Linked DNA regions of Homo sapiens: region 1 is linked to region 2. The links are contacts of gene promoters, found by promoter capture Hi-C in blood cells and fetal thymus (Javierre and others, 2016). All regions are on one chromosome and are shown on one strand. The core of a region is centred on a gene start or on the middle of the fragment in contact, and the rest is flanking DNA. Distances in the headings are between cores, read along the strand shown. Region 1 overlaps USP14 (ubiquitin specific peptidase 14). Region 2 holds the start of YES1 (YES proto-oncogene 1, Src family tyrosine kinase).

Region 1 (3,449 bases), core at 458-2,957, 650 kb before region 2:
AGTTAAGAATCCATCCCTGCCAGCATCATTGATGAAGGACTGCAGAAAAGACAAGAAGATATCTATTATTATTATTATTTTTTTTGGGATTGAGTCTCCCTCTGTCACTCAGGGGCTGGAGTGCAGTGGCGCCATCTCGGCTAACTGCAACCACCGCCTCCCGGGCTCAAGTGACTGTCCTGCCTCAGTCTCCCGAATAGCTGGGATAACAGGTCACCACCACCATGCGTGACAAATGTTTGTATTTTTGGTAGAGACAGTGTTTCACCATGTTGGCGCTGGTCTCGAACTCCTGACCTCAAGTGATATGCCTGCCTCGGGCCTCCCAAAGTGCTGGGATTACAGGCGTGAGCCACCACACCCGGCCTCTATTATTTTTAATAATATAAGTATAGCTTTAAAAAATACTTCCTTCAAGGGTTAGATAAAATGCTAAAGATCTATAGTTAACTTTAGAGATAAAGACAGGCTACCCCCACTGGGCAGTAAAACACACGTTGGAGGAAAATCTTTGTTTACCCCCGAAGGTACAGTATGAACCTTTGGCCTTTAGTGAACTTCATAGCCTAATCTATGCTGAACACTGTACTAGTGGTATGCTGTCGAGAATTATAGAAGTATGCGAATTAAATGAAACTGTGACTGCTAATGGTTACCATTTATTGAGTACTTATTTTATGTCAGGCTTTTATTATATTTTCTTTAATTCTCAGCTGTATGTTATCCATATCTTATATATGAGGAAATTTTATAAATGAGTGTCAAAGAGGTTTAAGTAACATAGTAAGGCACCAAAAGAGCATATGATTTATACATCAAGCAGATCTGTGTTCACTTCCCAGTTTTGTGTGACCTTGGGTAAGTGATCTTAGGGGGCATTTATAGTTATCATTCATTATGTTTAGCAGTCATAGACCTTAAATTGAGAAGGGCCTTTAGGAAGTTACCGTTCCATTTTAAAGCAGATAAAAGAGATAATTAGTGGCACCAATGAAGGGTAGACAAGCATATTGGGTACCCGATACCTTCTATAAAAGGGAGTAATATAGAATCGACTTTATCCTATGAGGGGAAAGGCCTAGCTGTAGTTAGTAAAAATATTACTCTGGACTAATCATGCATTTAAAAAAAAAATTCTTGATTTTTATTCAACATATTGAAAGGAAAGTATATACTTGCTTTATAGATGCGTTATAGACATTAACTCTTCATTCTTGCCACGTAAGCTTGTTATTTATTAGCTCTGCTGGTTCCAAACATCCAAAAAATAGGATCTATCATTTGTCATTAGTCAAGTGTTTTTTAGTACTTGCTAAAAGTATTTTTTTATACTTATGTGTTTTTTAGTATTTGATGCTGTAAATACAGGTTACTGCCTTTTGTATTGTGTTACCTTATGCAGTTGAAGCAAATTATTTGAAACCCTGGCTTTAGTACCACTTGTGTTTAAAAAAAATTTTTGTTTTTTTTTGAGATGGAGCCTTGTTCTGTTGCCCAGGCTGGAGTGCAGTGGTGAGATCTCGGCTCACTGTAACCTCTGCCTCCTGGGTTCAAGCAATTATCTTGTCTCAGCCTCCCGAGTAGCTGGAATTACAGGTGTGCACCACCATGCTCAGCTACTTTTTGTATTTTTAGTAGAGATGGAGTTTCTTTATATTGGTCCGGCTGGTTTCGAACTCCTGACCGCAGGTGATTTGCCTGCCTCAGCCTCCCAAAGTGCTGGGATTACAGGCGTGAGCCACTGTGCCTGGCCAAAAAAAATTTTTTTAATTGCCATAATTTTAAATAAAATCTGCATATAGGATAAATTTTATTCTGTTTTGAAGTACATTAAAATAAATTGATTATTAGATTGTGTTCAGCTTGTACAGTGGTGGTTAAATGTCTTTTGTTTGTCTTTGAAACAGGATGATGATTGGGGAAACATCAAAATAAAAAATGTAAGTATTATCTTATGAACGTTTATTATAATGCAGTAACCTCATTATGATACCAAAATACATTCCAGATGACTTTTTTTCATGTGTATATCCAGTTGTTCCAGCACTATCTGTTGAAAATACTTACCTTTTCCCATTGACTTGTGTTGGGCTCTTTCTTGAAAAGTAGTTATAGGTTTGTTTTTGGGTTTTTGTTTCATTGATCTAGTAGATTAAAGTTACACTAGTACCAAATGGTTTTGATTACTAAAGCTTTATAATAAAAGCCTTGAAAAAAAAATTAGCTGGGTGTGGTGGTGCACGCCTGTAATCCTAGCTACTCGGGAGGCTGAGGTGGGAGGCTGAGGCGGGAGGCAGAGGCAGGAGGCAGGAGAATCACTTGAACCTGGGAGGCGGAGATTGCAGTGAGCCGAGATCGTGCCACTGCACTCCAGCCTGGCAACAGAGCGAGACTCCGTCTCCAAAAAAAGAGTCTTGAAATAAGATAGTATATGTTCTTATGCTCTCCAACTTTCTCCTCTTTGAGATTTTGTTTGAGATTACATTGAATCTGTAGCTCAATTTGGGGAGAATAAACATCTTAACAATATTGAGTATTAAAATCCCTGAATATGATGTACTTCCTTATTTATTTAGGTCTCTGTTTTTCTCTTAGCAGAGTTGTAGTTTTTAAACATAGAGGTTTTGCATGAGTGGTTTTTTTTTTGAGACAGGGTCTCACTCTCACGTATGCCGGAGCACAGTGGCATGGTCATGGCTCGCTGCAGCTTTAAACTCCCAGCCTCAAGCAGTCCTTCCATCTCAGCCTTCCAAGTAGCTGGGACCACAGGCGGGTGTTACCATGCCCAGTTAATTAATTAATTTTAATTATTTTTTGTAGAGATGGGGGTGTCACTATGTTGCCCAGGCTGGTCTTGAACTCCAGGGCTCAAGCGATCCTCCTGCCTTGGCCTCCCAAAGTGCTGGGATTAACAGGTGTGAGTCACTGTGCCCAGCCCTTGCATGACTTCTCTTAAATTATTGGAACTTAACATTTGTTCGCTGCTTAAAATAATATTAAAAAATATTTCCAGTGTTCATGGCTAGAATGTAAAAATACAATTGATTTTTCTCTCTTTTTTTTTTTTTTTTTTTTGAGACAGAGTCTCACTCTTATTGCCCAGGCTAGAGTGCAATGGCGCGATCTCGGCTCGCTGCAACCTCTGCCTCCCGGGTTAAAGCAATTCTCTTGCCTGAGCTGGGATTACAGGCGCCCACCACCACGCCCAGCTAACTTTTGTATTTTTAGTAGAGATGGGGTTTCTCCATGTTGGTCAGGCTGGTCTCGAACTCCCGACCTCAGGTGATCCGCCCACCTTGGCCTCCCAGAGTGCTAGGATTACAGGCGTGAGCCACCGCACCCGGCCAAAATACAGTTGATTTTTCTAAGTTTATTTTCATTCTTTATTCTTGTAAGCAATTCACTTACTAATTCCAGTTGTGTTTTGGGCAGATTCCATTGGGTTTTCT
Region 2 (3,270 bases), core at 423-2,922:
AGCCCTTTTATCTTTTATCCTGGAAACATGGATATAAACTGTTTTGTTTTCAGATCAAAGGCAATTGTCTTTTTCAAATGTAGGACCCTCTGAATTGTCAACCAGCATTTAAAATCTCCACCGACTTTTAGCTAATGTCCAAAAATAAAAATACAATTTAACTTCCTTTCCTTACATGTCAATTGTGGCAGGGGTCTCACACTTATAAGCAAACAAACAAAAACCAAAAAACCATATATATTATTTGCTAAAGTAAAACTTTCTTACTGTACAATATATGAACATCGTAAGTGATGCATACAAGATCCTTGGCTAATACAAGATACTCCTTTATTACCTGACCATTCAAAATGCTTCCTGTCCACCGTGTGCCAAGCACTGTGATAGTTAAGATATTAGATTTACCATGCACTTTTCCTTAAATGCACAGTCACGTGTATACATTTAGTAATACTTTCCTTAGTGCGTAATTTAACTTTAGAAGTGTAACAGGATGGTTTAAATATTTAAAATTATCAAGGTATCTTTGGCACTGTAATCTTACAGTTATAATACATGAAGATACTATAATCATATCATGTGAAATCGACTGTGAAAACACACACCCGTGGAACGTATATACATAATAAATGGACATAAAATTGTGCTTCCACCAAAGACTTTCATTATTTCCTTTAGTAATTTATAATTATACAGTATGTTATTCCACGCCTGTATCAATTAATTATGCAGAAAATGATTCAACCAAATCCGAACTGTTAAGTCCTACTCATTACAAAACAAAAACTAAAGTCCCTACACCAGACTTGATTTTCAAAGAGCTTCTTAAAACAGCTCTGCCCCATGCCCAATAAAGTGAAAGCTGGAAGCAATTATCAAGAAGAAAAACACACTTTAAGACAATTTTCTTTAACACATGTGGACAGGGAACCGAACGCAACGGGAGGCGGAGTGGCATGATTCCGTAAAAGTGGACGCTGAATGGTAAATTTCCCAACCCCCAACCCAAAACAAAGGAAAACTTTAAACATGTTGCGGTTTTCAATCAAACCAAGTAAAGCCAGAAAGGCTCATCCACTCGCCCCACACACCCGCTCCTCTCCCCGCACAGCTGCTACCGGCGTCGGCCGATACACAGACCCCCAGCCTTTAGGACCCAAAGGGGCCGCTTCCCTCGCCCCTACTTCGGCCGTAGGGGCAAAAATAAACCTCTCCTCCCCGTCGCCGGGCGGTCCACACGACCCCAAAGACAAGGGGTGGGGAGTGTCCCCACGCCCCTGGAACCTCAGGTCGGACTTGGGCGGGACCCGGCAGGTCTGGACAGGGCAGAGACCGAGTCAGGGGCGAGCAGGTAGCGCGGGGAACGAGACAAGCCCGCCGGGCGATCCGGGGGAGGGGAGAAGTTTCTTCCCAACTTCCCGACTCGGGCCCGCGGGGGCGGGGAACCGCGGCGGCGGCGGCGGCGGCGGCTCCGGGCGCTGGGGCCTAGCCCTGTCCGGGCAGAGGTGGAACCCTCCGCCCGCGGGGCCCCACCGGGTCCTTACCTGTCCTCCGGCCGCGCTCTCATGAGTCGCTGCTACCGCAGCTCGAGGTGGCGGAGGGCGGAGGCGAGGCCCGCGGGCCCTCTCCCTCCTCCACCTCCTCGTCCCGGGGCGCCCGGCGGCAGCAACGACGGCAGAGCCGGCCCGGGACGCGTTACTTCAGGAGGAGGGAGTTCCCGGGCTCCCCACGCCTCGGCCTCACTCTCCACCTCCTCCGCCCCCCCCCCCCGGCCCCGCCCCCTGACTTCTAGCGGGGGCGGGGGCTGCGGGTACCTGCGCGCGCCGCCGTCCGCTCACCGGAACTCGGGCCACGCCGGCCCGGCTCCGGGGCCCCCAGCCTTCCGGCGCCTACGCCCCCGTCAGGTCCCCTCCGCGGGCTCCGGGCCGCTTTGCTGTGGTCAGGATAGGCGACCGGTCCGTGTCACTTCTCCCGACCCAACATGGCGGCGGGGTCCGGGGCGGATTCCCGGGGGCGGTGCAGGCCGAGGGGGCGTGAGGAGGAGGTGCTTCCCTGCCCGGAGAGCAGGCCCGCGGCGTCCCTTCCCACCCGCGAACCCACCGACGCTCGGCTGCCGCGGAGATTGAATGGAGCGCTCCGATTCTGCCCCTCTGCCTTTCTCTGTTCCTTGGCCCAGCTCTCAGTAGTGGCCAGGGCTTTGGGGCTTGCTTTTGTGGGGGAGGACGGGGTTGAGTTTTTTTGGTTGGCTGTTTGCTTCTCAGCGCTACGCTTCCGCACCCTTTGTCGTTGGTAGTAAAATCTCAAGCCCAACCGCGTGAGCCGGGGGCGTTACTCACACCCTCATCACCATCCTGATCGCCGTCCAAAAAACGTTCACGTCTTGCCTCCTTCCGAGGCAGGGATCCTGTCCCTGCCCCCAGGAGCTTCCTGTTGACTGTAGGTCGAACCAGCCTTGCCGGGAGGGGAACCGAAGCTGAGTTCTGTTTGGCGACTATCCCAGTCATGGTGGCTTTGGCTTATGTTGGGACAGCGTTTTTCTATATGATGCTGGCGGCAGCCCAGTGAGGGAAGTGCAACAAGTATGGTTCTCCTGCTTGTCAACTGTGGAAACAGCGACCCTGAAAGTGGAGGAGCCACAGCTGGAATCGTGTCCGTCTGAATACACGCACCTTTCCTATGAGCCTTGTAAAGCCAGTCGTTGAAGAAGGGGGAGGACCCGGAAGGATGGGGTGGGGGCGTAAAGATGAAGGTTAATCAAGGTCCTCATGGACTGAACCTTGAGGCCCTTCTGCTGCAGTCACTTTTGCCCTATCAGACTTTTAGAGTAACTTCCTCTCTTTATTTCCTCTTTGGTGGGGTTATCAGAATTATTTTGTGACTATTGGTTTCCTTTGCGGTTTTTAGTGAAATTCAGAATCATCTTCGACGGATAGGAAATAGTGCAATCATATGTGTCAGTATTCCGGTATTCTAGGAACTTAAGGAAATGCATATAAGGGTTTGAACATTTTTTTCTTCAGCTCACTAAATGAACGAAAGGTAGGCGTAGGCGTTAAAGAGACACATAATGTGGAACGATGCTGTATTTTCTTAGCTACTAAAACTTCATTTGTCATTGACTGTCTCAGGGCTTTAAAATTTTATGTAGGTCTATATTCAGCTTTTATTAAAATAGAAAATTCCTTGAGCTGTTGCCTTTCTTCACTAAATAGAGATAATTTCGTCTTCCTAAACACTCAGTCTCAAAAATCACCTCTAAAATAGGCCGGG

The links. The method cuts DNA at HindIII sites, captures the fragments that hold promoters and counts their contacts. A CHiCAGO score of 5 or more calls a contact.
Region 1: a fragment that was not itself captured here is called in contact with the fragment with the promoter of YES1 in region 2 in 1 of 17 cell types (activated CD4 T cells); the score reaches 6.1 in activated CD4 T cells.

The regions. Positions count from the first base shown.
Region 1 is chr18:164,880-168,328 of GRCh38, forward strand. It overlaps USP14 (ubiquitin specific peptidase 14), which reads left to right. Exons shown (of 16, transcript NM_005151.4): 3 at 1,908-1,940. Among named protein-coding and RNA genes, the nearest start is that of USP14, 8.0 kb to the left of the region's middle. The HindIII fragment of the contact is 966 bases long and covers 1,225-2,190 here.
Region 2 is chr18:810,570-813,839 of GRCh38, forward strand. YES1 (YES proto-oncogene 1, Src family tyrosine kinase) reads right to left here and starts at 1,673. Exons shown (of 12, transcript NM_005433.4): 1 at 1,545-1,673. RefSeq lists silencers at 1,280-1,369, 1,440-1,499, 1,550-2,059 and enhancers at 1,791-2,333, 2,334-2,875. The HindIII fragment of the contact is 10,737 bases long and covers 1-3,270 here.